Linked DNA regions of Homo sapiens: region 1 is linked to region 2. Evidence: promoter capture Hi-C in human tissues and cell types (Jung and others, 2019). All regions are on one chromosome and are shown on one strand. The core of a region is centred on a gene start or on the middle of the fragment in contact, and the rest is flanking DNA. Distances in the headings are between cores, read along the strand shown.

Region 1 (6,041 bases), core at 2,761-5,260, 470 kb after region 2:
CCCTTCTGTAACGTTAATAAACGGAATATTTTATTGCAAAGAATATTTTATTTTATACATCACTAGCCATGAATTTTTGCCATTAGTTGTTATACAAATGCTGCCTAGTGCCATTATCCAAATAGCATAACCATTTTACATCCACAATTCACTTCTATAGTTAGAAGTAGAATTTTCATGATTTACATACGTACATCTATCAGTGAAGATTTAACACTGAGATGCAATCTAACATTCGTAATATCTGATGTTTTGCAGATGTCAATGTAGGAAAGATATGTTTTAATCACTTTTCATTTAAGTGACCTTATGTAAAAAATAAACTAATAATTTAGCAGTTCCAAGTCTGTAAAGGACATTTTCAAATGTACATAAAAGAAATGGTTACAGAGATTTTTAAGATGTGTTTTCCATGCCTACATGCTCTTGTAACTGCTGTACCATTTTCTCTTCCAGCTGCTTCTCTTTGCCTGCAAGAGGGGCTTGAATAAGATGGATGTTTTGCTTGACTTCTTTGATATCCTGAACTTTCTGTAGCTCTTTATTTTTATTCAGTCTGTTCATTATAAATTTAGCTTGGCATTTCTGTTTGATTTCTTCAATTTGCTTCATTGCATCAATAGTTTTATTCCATAGCTCTCGCTGGTATTTGATAGGTTCATTTCTACGTTTTTCAAATTCAAATGAATTATCCACTGTAAGCTCTTTACCAGCTGCATTCTGGAATGCTTTGATCCACCTAGCTTTGCGAGGACTGCACTTCTTTTAAAAGTTTTTATGACATTTAGATTTACAAAATCTGAACAACTTGCAATTGTTGTGGACGAACATCATGCCGTGACCAGGGTAGATGGGCCCTGAACAGAAATAACACTTCTCAATACACATGTTGAACCCACGTGGGTCCCCACCAAGCAAACACCAAGCTTGAGAGCTCATTTGTTATTTTCAGTGCATGTTTTCTGGTTGTATAAAAGGTTTCCTATGCAAGAGGGCTGATGTTATAACAGTAGATTACTACAGTGTATTTTCAACAGGCAAAGAAAGCTTTTTATGATTTGAATCTTCTAGAAGCATCAGAGAAAGACTGTTCTTGCCATTCACACTACAACAAAACTTTGGGATCTTGAACTTTGAGTTCATAATCTCACAACTGAGAAGGGTCCCTCCAAGCTCTTGGAGCTGTGTGCCCACTGGAACCCTTAAGGTAAAATTAACCAAAGAAATTTCTCCCAAGAGGAGAATGGCATCCTTACTATGAACAGCTTTTCTCACGTTCACAGATTAAGACTTCTACTGTCGTGAAACTTATCTTCGAATATTTTTTGTTGCTTATGCCTCTACAAAAAAATAGAAGTGGAAAAGGTGTCTGTTATGTGCACTTATGGTGTATACTCTTACTTGCGAAGGAGTTTGTAACCAGCTTTTTAAATGGGTAAACTTATACTTTGATAGATAAAAGATGAAGGCCCAATGTAGGTAAGAAACTTTAAAGGTACATGCTTTGCCTCATAATCAAAAACAAAACATTGGTTCACTCCTCTTAACCCACATCATGGGTTAAAGAGAACATTGCCAGAAGGCCTTCACTCTTCTAAAAAGGCATCATTTGTTAGGTCCTTTTTCCATGGTTTAAAGAAAAAGAAGCAATGATTAGAAATATATCCCTCACAATAGGTTCTATAGCAAATTCTACTGTAAAGGCTATAGTTACACAATAGACTCTAAATTACCTTGTGAAAGTTATGATAGAATTGGCTAAACAGAGAAGTATCTGTGCAGCTGCTGGCACTTGTGGCCTATGGAAAAATACGTCAAATGAAGATTACAGAAATTCAGTGGTAGAGGATTGACAAAGAAATTGCTAAGTCAAGTGAGTAAATTCTTTATCTAGCTGATCCTTTGATCTATTTGATTTTAAGAGGTTTGGTTTATGGGGACCTTGGGTAAGGAGCACACTCCAAACTCTTGGTATCATCCTCCCAATAGTCATAATAATAGTCTCCCTGGTGCACTGCATTCCCTCGAAGGTTTTAAATGCTTGCATGTAGCCATCTCCAGAATGTCAAATGGTCTTTCTTCAGCTGGAATAACAAGAGCTGAAGGAAATGTGCAACCATGAGGACCCCTTAACCTATGAATGATGTGCTGAGACCAGAAGCCCAAAATGATGGTAACTGAGAGCAGCACTAAGGCCCTAAGTTTTGGTTACACTCTCACCTGAGAACCTGACCAAAAAGGGGAAATTTTTTTAACAAAATTCTGGAAGGCCATTGTTTCGGACTAGGCTTATGCACTAGGCCCCAACAAACCAAACCAAACCAAAAGGGAGTCACTTCTGCTAAGACTTTAAGGAAACACATAGATTTCTAGAACAAACCAGGTTTTGTTTTTTCTCCTGCAAACCTCTATAACAAACATTTCTGAGAGCATAGGTATCCACCCCCGAAGTTCCCATTAAATCTTTTAACCAAATTCATTTCCTCTTGCTTAGAAATCATCAAGCTTCAGATGATCATGAAACAAAGGTTCCAGCCACCTCCATGTGAAGACACCACCCCTGGCCATCAAGAAGCTACCTTGCCTTCACTAGACAGAACAGGGAGAGAGTTCCATGATCCACAATAGGTAGGGACTACGCCCCAAGGTAGCATGAAGCAGTTACAGAAAAAAGACCATCAGTCCCTCTGCCTCCCATAAAGATTTATGGGGATCACATCTCTCAGGGAGGAAATGAGACAGGAAAATAAGGTCTGGAGGCAGGGAACATAAGGCCAATTCATACTTCAGCTATAAAAGGAAATATCCTCTCCATAGGGCATATGCTGTAAATGACTTTGTAACTTTACCTCATCCTGTCTGTTTATATAGGGCTTCCGAAGTAACAAATAAGAATTCTCTAGGGGTTAAACTCCTGAAAATTCTGTAACGGGGCCTTTGAGCCCCTAGGTTCAGGTCCACTCCCACACTGTGGAGTGTACTTTCATTTTCAATAAAACCCTTAATTCCTTCATTGCTTTGTTTGTGAGTTTTGTCCAATTCTTCGTTTAAGACGCCAGAACCTGCACACCCTCCACCGTTAACAGTTACCTAAAATGGTGTTGGTGGTAAGAGACTTGGGGGAAATGGAGTGCAAGGGATATGGGAGGCCACTTCTCTGAGTTTACCTTTTGTTAGACCTTTAACTTTTGAAAGCGTGTGAATGCTTTACCTTTTTTTTTTTCTTTTTTTTGAGACAGAGTCTGACTGCGTCACCCACACTGGAGTGCAGTGGAGCGATATGGGCTCACTGCAATCTCCGCCTCTCAGGTTCAAATGATTCTCTTGCCTCAGCCTCCCGAGCAGCTGGGATTACAGGCACGTGCCACCTTACCTGGCTAGTTTTTGTATTTTTAATACAGATGAGGTGTCACCATATTGGCCAGGCTGGTCTTGAACTCCTGACCTCAGGTGATCCACCCACCTCAGCCTCCCAAAGTGCTGCAATTACAGGCATGAGCCACCGTGCCCGGCCAACCTACATTTTCAAAAACTGTTAAGTAAGGATGGGTAGTGGAGAAAACTAAGGTTGAAAGCAAGTTAAAGCAAATGAACTCAATTTTATTCCATAGTACGACTACATGGAAAGGAAAATAACATAATTTGTGGACAGGGCATTTGACAGTACACCTTCACTCTTTGGCCAAGAGAGTGAGGATGGTAAGGAGACAGGGGTGTGTGTATGGAGAAATGCAAACAAATCTTTAACTCTATTTATTTATTTGGTTAGTTGTTACAATCACCTACTGAACCTCTTTTAATGGATAGTTTTTGTTAGTAGATGGGCAAAGCAATTCCAAAACTATTGTATGTGTATTATATGATACAGCAGGTGAGTAAATATGCTAATCTTGTTGGAATTAGGGGTCTCAATGTGGAAAAAGGGACACATACAAATATAGAATGGGAGAATATAAGAAAGAATCCTGAAGAGATGAATGGATTGAAATGGGAGGTATGGGTGTGAGCTCATGATTTTTTTTATTTTTTATTATTTTTTATTATTTTATTATCATTTTATTTTTTTTTGGAGACAGGGTCTCTGTCCCCCAGGCTGGAGTGCAGTGGCGTGATCTCGGCTCACTGCAACCCCCGCCTCCCAGGTTCAAGCGATTCTCCTGCCTCAGCCTCCCGAGTAGCTGGAATTACAGGCACATGCCACCATGCTCACCTAATTTTTTGTATTTTAGTAGAGGCGAGGTTTCACCGTGTTGCCCAGCCTGGTTTCGAGCTCCTGAGCTCAGGTGATCCATCTGCCTTGGCTTCCCAAAGTGCTGAGATTAAAGGCGTAAGCCACCTCACCAAGCCGAGCTCATGATTTCTAAAATATGTATATGTATTTGTATGGGCATGAATACATGCGCATATGTGTATATATGCACATGCACATGTGTAAGTATATATGATTATATGTGTATACATGCACATGTATTTCCTAGGTGTTTCCATTAAAAGGACCAAGAAGCAAATATCATAGAAGCAGTTAGTACACTATGCCCCCGGATATTCCTCTCTAATACTCTTCCCCACTGAAAGAAATCAGGAAAGTACTGAGAAATGGCTGAATTTTGGGCTGGGGCAGGGTAGATGCAAATTAAGTCTGGAACAACTTGTTATGCAGAAAATAAGAACATGTTCAAAAGAATGATTGTGGCACTTTGGGGGGCCGAGGCAGGCGGATCACAAGGTCAGGAGATCGTGACCATCCTGGTCAACGTGGTGAAAACCCATCTCAACTAAAAATACAAGAAAAATTAGCTGGGAGTGGTGGCATGCGCCTGTAATCCCAGCTAATCGGGAGGCTGAGGCAGGAGAATCCCTTGAACCAGGGAGGTGGAGATTGTAGTGAGCCAAGATGGCACCACTGCACTCCAGCCTGGCGACAGAGTGAGACTCCGTCTCATTAAAATAAAAAAAAAAAATGATAGTAGCAAGCTACAAGGATCCAGAGGCCACTCGAATGGTTTTCCACTATGAGCAGGTACAGGCAAAGCAACCTCCAAAGTCCCAGGGAGATGAGAGGCCAAACAAAGTTTGACAAATCCAGTTTCTCAGAAAGAAACATTTAATAAAGACTTACAAACAGAAACCACATCTTGGGCTGCAGCCCGAGAGGGTGGATCCCTGCACTCACCCTGCAGAAAGTATCCTTTCTATAGCAAGCTTTTAGGGTAAAATATGAACAGCTGATTACACCTCAGACTGTCTCGCAAAACCCATGGCCACTGGGGAAGTTAGATAAGCAATTTTATGAGGGGTTATTCATGCTACATACATTGTTTTTGACCTTGCTGCAGAATACCTTGGTATGCAGGAGTCAAATATTAGTCATTATGATTGTTTTACTTCAAGATGGCTTTACTCCTGCAAGGCAAGAGGCTATGTTCCCAAAAAGGGGCTCTCCCTAATTAAATATGGGTAAAGTTGAACATCAATATAATTAAGGACAATAATGAGTTATAAATCACTGGGGAGAAAAGATTCCATGAGTCCATATCAATGATAGACATTTAAGTAAAATGGAGAAAAGGGAGGACTCTTGCTTAAAATAGAATGTTGTGTGCAGACTAGTAAATAAGTGGGGAAGCCAGGGAACACTTTATACTTTGATGATGCTCCCTTAACCTGCTGCATCTCCACCGTCAGTTCTCACACTTGACTTCCAAGCATGAGCTATGGTGAATTTTTTTTCTGCCCAAACTCCACCTCCCACAACACTCTTTAGCCCTCTCCTCTGCCCTCACTTTATTTGCTTTAGTTCAGTTCTCATTCCTCCGATCTCAACTTGACTTTAATGAGGCTTCTCTGGCTTCCATTATCTCAGCTTAGCTGCCTCCATCTATAATTTCTCAGCACCCAAACTGCCCTCATCATAACACCACACGTTTTAGTTTCTTTTTAATGTCTCTCTCTTACCCTCCAGCAAGCTATCCCAGTGCAGGGACCAGTCTTGAGATCTTGTTCCCTTTAGAGTCCCCATTGCTTAACACAGTGCCTAGATC
Region 2 (6,421 bases), core at 2,156-4,655:
CTCAATCTGCAATCAGCACTAGATGGTTTAGTCCTTCACTTTCGTCAAGGATGTAGATTAGGACACACAGTGTGAACATCTAAAGCTCCAGTTTTAGATCTGGAGTATGTTTACTTTAGAAAATTGGAAGACACTGAGGTTTTTCAAAAACAATACTGAGGTCTAAATCAGGGTGCAAGTGACAGGGAACACAGGCTACTTCTTGTAGGCATGATGCCTTCGGGAATGCCCTTTCTCCCGATTCTTTGGGGTTTTTGATTTTGCGCCAATGGAAAATGAAGAGGCTGATGATCTAAAAGGTCCTCTCCCAACAGAGCCCTGGGCAGGTGGAAAAGGCATCCCAAAGCCAACACTGCTGCCTGCCTTAGCTTGTCCAGGGACTGGGGTGTTTTGAGCAATGGGGGCCATAGTCTTTCTTGCAGAAATGCTGCCTCTCCCCAAGGAAAAAGCTGTGCGGTGGCTGGGCAGGCCTTCAGTGTTCTGGCTCCAGCCTTTTCCAAAGGGGATCATGGTGTTAGTGGTCCCACTAGGCAATGCTCCAATGCTGAAAGCTCCAGAGGTGGGGCTCATGTCTGGACCAGTCATTATGATCCCAGACTCATCACAGTCCATAGGGGTCACGAATCCCCCAAAAGTGAAAGGTTGTGGAGCTCTGCTGCCAAACACTGAGCCAAAAGCCCCACTTTGGTGGGTCTGAATTACAATTCTAAACCCAGTTGTACTAGCTTGACTAATGGGAAAACCTGCTGGAATGCCGCCAATGCCTGACCAGGTGCTGGCAGGGGTTTGAGAGGTGGAGGCTGAGGGTGTCAAACACCCCAAGGCTGACTGTGTGGTACTAATGAAGGCTGGCTGAGCTGGAGTTGGCATGGGGGTTGGCAATGCCACTGCTGAGCTCCCAAAAAGAAAAGAACTACTGACACTTGGCATAAGGGCTGGCTGGGAAGGCCCTTGTTTCTGTCCATTTGTGGCACCAAATGCAGGCTGGGGATTAGCTCCTTGGGATAGTGGGAAAGGTGGCCTTGAGCTTGATCCCAAGGGACTTGTGATTGCTGGAGTCAGGTTGGAGATGCTGGGGGTTGATGCAAGCCAGTTTGTGGATACTAGGGCAGAGGCAGGCAGAGGGCTGCCCATACCCCTGAAATTAGCAGTGCTGCTTCTAGGGGATATCTGTACAACACTGGAAAGGACCTGGGTAAACATGGTGACTGTATGCACAGTAGGAATTGTAGGATGGTGGTGTGGTGGGAAAATGAATCCTGTGGCTGGGGTGAAGTCGGCCCTGAAGGCCTGAGCAGTCCCAAGCAGGAAAGTGTCGCAAGTGGAAGGGACAGAATAAGTGTTGCCTACGGCACTGGTGACATTCACTACACCAAAATCCAAAGGTGGCTTAAAAACAGAGTCTTTAGATGTGCTGGCTAGGGTGGTGGACATGACCACAGAGGTGGCCTTGACCAGGCCATGGAAATGATGGGTAGAAGCATGAGTAAATGGAGGAGGGGTCTGCTTGGAGGAGAAAGGAGCTATCATGGGCGTAGTTTTAAGTGGATCTATGCTGCCAAAGATAGGCTTGAAGGTAGGAGTTAAGGTACCCTGAATTGTGGAAAGGGAAGAGATTGAAGATGCTGCAGCTGTGACTGAAATTCTGGAATATGAGGAGCTTCCAATCTCGCTGTTGTGCAGGGGCCCCAAAATCGGTTTTAACATGAGGTGAGCAGAAGTTGCATCAGGAGGTGCAGATGCAGAAAGATGGGATGTTGGGCTACTCACCATTCCAAGCAAAGTACTTTGGATGGTGGGTGGTGCAGGTGGGTCTGGGGGCATGGGAGACCTGTCAGCCTGAGAGGTTGAAGGCGGCCAGGTGGTGTCAGTAACTGGTAATGTGGGAGAGGTGGGGGTCAGCAGGATGAAAGTAGCTGTGGGCTTTGAGTCTGGAGAGGTGCCTGGAAGGAGCTCTGACTGTGAGCACCCAGGTGGGGTCGGTAGGCTGGGTGTCTTCAAAGGAGAATGGGCCACACTGGTTGCCTCTCCCGTGGACTGTGGAGAGGCCAGTGGACCTAGAGACTTCTGCATTTTTCTTAAGTTTTCCAACTGAGGATTTGCTCCCTGGGTTAGATCTGTTTCTGAAGAAGGCAGAGCAAGAGACAAGGAAGGCTGAATAGCAAGCCAAGTCTCAGGGAAAGGGTCTGTGTTGACCTCAGTTGTATCTTCTCCTGCGTTGTTGCTTACCTGTAGCTCAGCTTTCTTCCCCAAAGTCAAGTTCTCATCAGAGACTGCATAACCAAGCTGGGGAGGTGGGATCTCTGACACCAGGTTCTCAGGGCTAGACGGCAGCTGTGGAATCTTCTGGTTTTGCTGCCCAGAACTTTCAGATCCTCCTAGGGACTCAAAATCTGATACCAGTGGGACTGGAGAGGAAGGCCGATGACAACTTTTTTCCTTTTTTATTGGCCACTCTGGTGTCTCGAATGATACACTGGGAACACTTCTCTTCCAAGGGTCTGAGAAATTTCTGCAAGAGCTGTAAGAGCTGCCAATAGCATTCCTTTTGGAGCTGAGGGTGCCACCTCTGTATATGCTGGCCAAGGAGCTCATGGAGGAGCAATTGGGCCTCTTAGTCAAGCTGTGATCTGAGCCCCAGGAGTGGAGACTTCTCTTCAGCGGCCCAGGCCTGGGCACAAAAGAAGTGAGGGTTCCATTTTTCATCAGGGGCTTAAATGCCGATGGTCTGGTCTCTGGACTCCTTCTCTTACTGTCCAGACTCTCAGGGAATAGTGGTTCTTCCAACCTCCCTTTCCCTTTTCTGCACTCTCTGAGGGCCCTCAACACTGTCTCCTTTGAACATGGATCTGCGAGCTCCTCAGAGGGCGGGAGTCCTGCAAGGGCAATTACATCTTCAGGAGAAGTGGAAGGGGGCACTCTCTGGTCAGGAGGAGTGATCCTGATGGTCACTGGGCTCCAAATTGGCCTGGGATGTCGAAGAGACCAAATAGTCCGCTTTAAGTAACTTTCCCACCAGTCTGAAGGGAGAGGCCCCAGGGGGGAATTCTGGGACTTCTTCATGGGAAAGCGCCTCCAGGCCTCGTTGGCCAGCCACGTGGTTGGATTGGCAGGATCCAGGTTTGGCCGCCTCCTCACAGGTCTATACCGTGGGGCAGGGTGGGCGCGGTGGACGAACTGAACCCGATGAACTTGGTGAAGGGGCTGAGGTGGCCGGCGTTTCGTGGGCCTCTCGGGCAAGTCGGTGCGCACCTGGGCTGGGGACGAGGGCGAAAGTTCCAGTTTGCTCAGGAAACTGCCCATGAGGAGAGATGAGGCGCGGGCAGTGAGTTCAAGCACGGTTTTGGCTTCCGAGGTTTCGGACGTCTGCAGAATCGGACAGAGTCGAAGAGCGCAGTGTTCGGTTGACGGTTGGGATTCACGCGCTAGGAAAGCGCGAGTCTCAGGGTGCTTAGCACTCTCCAGGCCCGGCACCCGCGGGAACGGGGGACACGCGGGACTTCGGCAGTCCCAGTAACTTGCTTTGCTGTTCTGAGACCTCAGCGGGGCGGTCAGACCTCTGCTGTCTCCGCAGCGAGTTGCAGTACTTGGCGCGGGGAGAGGAACTCGAGAGGAAGCTCACTGCGCCTCGCCCCTGGCGTCGGCAGCGGCTGTCTGGGACCCTGTGGTCCGGATTCACCAAGTGGCGCAGAGCTGGAATCGAGTGGGTGCACAGTTTCCAGGCTCCGACTATTACTGGCCTCGAAGGTACAGGCTCAGGCGGCTCAGGGCCCCGGCGCAGATCTGTCGGCCCGCGGGATCCCCGGAGTCTGAGTGGGGAGCACTATCCGCACCCCGTAGAGTGAGTGCGGGCGGCTTTCGCAGGTGCTCAGGACTGGAGATCTGGACCGGTGGCTGTGCCGCCCGGATGGCATTTGTGGCACTAGCAGTCGGGAAAGCAGCTGATTGAGGATTTCCGCGTTTCTCTTTTTTTGCAGATCGTGACGCCGCCAGTAGGTGTCAGTCATTTGCCGCACAGCCACCTTTGAGATCCACCTGTGTCTCCCAGCGGCCGAATCCAGGTTTCCTTCCTATTCGCACTTGGAGAACTCATGCAGATTGCCGTCAGGAGTGGCCTCAGAGATCCGGAGTGGGCGAATGGGAAATCGCATCTTACGGCCCAGAACCTGAGCCCTCCACAAGCACTTGGCTCAGTCCCTTGCTCAGGCCACCTCCTGTTCTCTTCTGCTCTGTGAAAGACACTGTTAAGAGAATGAAAAGACACGCCACAGACTGGAGAAAATATTTGCATAATACGTATGTATCTGCTGAAGCACTGGTATACAAAATATACATAGAATGTTAAAACTCATAATAAGGTAAAAAATTAATGGGCAAAATATTTAAACAGAAACCCCGCCAAAGAAGATATGCAGATGGTAAACAGTATAAAAAGATGCCAAACATCATTGACATATGCTATATGTCAATATTTAGCTATATATAACTAAACATCAGTAAATACTTCTGATTGCAATTTAAACATCAGTAAGATACCATAATTGCAAATTAAACATCAGTAAGATATTACTACACACCATTCAATTGGCTAAAATTCAAAACACCACATGCTAAGGAGGAGGTGGAGTAACAGGTACTCTCATTCATTACTGATGAGAATGCAAAATGGTACAGCCACTTTGGAGGACAGTATGGCAATTTCTTACAAAGCTAAAACACAGTCCTACAATACAATTCAACCACCACAATCCACGTGTTTATCCAAATGAGCTTAAAGTGAATGTCCACATAAGGACCTGCATGTGAATGTTTATAGAAGTTTTATTCATAGTTGCCAAAAATTGGAAGCAACCAAGAAGTCCTTCAACAGGCAAATGAATAAACTGTGGCATAACCATACAATGGAATATTATTCAACACTAAAAAGAAATGCACTATCAAGTCACGAAAAGATATAGAGGAACCTAAAATCCATATTGCTAAGTGAATGGAACCATCTGAAAAGGCTACATATGACTTCAAATATATGACAATCTGGAAAAGGCAAAACAATAGAGATAGCAAACAGAGTGCAACCGTGGTTGCAGGAGAGGTGGTAAAGAAATGTGGGATACCATTAAGCACACCAACATACACAAAATGAAAGCACTAGGAAAGGAAAGAGAGAAAGGAGTAGAAAAAATTGTCAAAGAGAGTGGCTGAAAACTTCCCAATCTAATTGAAAAACATTAATCTACATGTCCAGAAAGCGCAACAAATTCTACATAGGATTATACAAAGAGTTCCACAAACAGACATGTCAAGTAAAAGCGCTGAAAGACAAAGACAAAGAGAAAATCTTGAAAGTAACAAGAGAAAAATGACTCATCACTTACAGAAGAACCCTAAACAAATTAACAACTGACTTCTCATGTGAAACAATGGAGGCCAGAGGCAGTGGGATAAGATATTCAGTGTTCAACAAAAAATACTGTCACCCCAAAGTTCTACATCTAACAAAGCTACCTTTCAAAAATGAAAGCAAAATAAAGACATTCCCACATAAACAAAAACAGAGAATTTGTTGTTAGAAGACCTGCCTTAGAAATACTAAAGGAAATTATTCAGACTGAAGGTGACACCATCTGGTAATTCAAACACACATTTAAAACAAGAGCACTGGTAAAGGTAATCACGCAATTATAAAAGACAGTATAAATGTGTTCTTATCTTAACTGATTCAAAAAGTAATTGTACAAAACAATATGCATATTATGTACAAAACCGTATGCTATGAGGGCCTATAGCGTATAGAAATGTAATATATCTGCTAATAACAGCACAAAGGAGGTGGGTGAGAAGAAAGCTGCACTGGGCTAAGGAAATAACTCCTGATAGTAAGACAAATTTATAGGAATAAATAAAGAAACCAGAAATGATAAATAATAAGATTAATATAGAATAAGCTATATATATATACACACACACAATTTTTTCTCCTTTTGTTTCTCTCACCTTATTTAAAACACATAAAATTATATAAATTAATAATTGTAATAATGTTAGGTTTGTAATATTTATAGTTGTAATATTTATAACAATAATATGATTAAAAGGGAGAAATAGGAGAAAGAGCTATATGGGATTGAGATTTTTATATCTCACTGGAATTAAGTTAGTATAAATCTGAAAGTGTTCTGATAAGGTATATGACAAATAAGTCCTAGGAATTATTGAATTATTTCCTCTGAAGAAATAATTCAAAATTTATAGTGGAAAAATCATCAAAGAAATTAAATGCTACAGTATAAAATATTTGCTTAATGCAAAAATGGAATATAGGAGGAATGGAAGAACCAAAAAGGCATGAGACATACAGAAAATAAAAAGTTAAATACCAGACAAATCCAAATATATCAGTAATAATAATGTTATATGTAAA

The links. Contacts are between HindIII fragments. The study calls those that stand out against the background at their distance.
Region 1: a contact is called between a fragment that was not itself captured here and the fragment with the promoter of POM121L2 in region 2, in 1 of the 25 tissues and cell types used here (pancreas).

The regions. Positions count from the first base shown.
Region 1 is chr6:27,780,224-27,786,264 of GRCh38, forward strand. It overlaps the pseudogene RSL24D1P1. Among named protein-coding and RNA genes, the nearest start is that of TRQ-CTG6-1, 8.2 kb to the right of the region's middle. The HindIII fragment of the contact is 6,049 bases long and covers 987-6,041 here.
Region 2 is chr6:27,308,868-27,315,288 of GRCh38, forward strand. POM121L2 (POM121 transmembrane nucleoporin like 2) reads right to left here and starts at 3,406. Exons shown (of 1, transcript NM_033482.4): 1 at 1-3,406. The coding sequence starts at 3,303. The coding sequence ends at 196. It overlaps LOC105375107, which reads left to right and starts at 3,302. Exons shown (of 3, transcript XM_011515048.2): 1 at 3,302-3,325; 2 at 3,456-3,747; 3 at 3,978-4,869. The coding sequence starts at 3,302. The coding sequence ends at 4,345. RefSeq lists a silencer at 3,463-3,757. The HindIII fragment of the contact is 18,009 bases long and covers 1-6,421 here.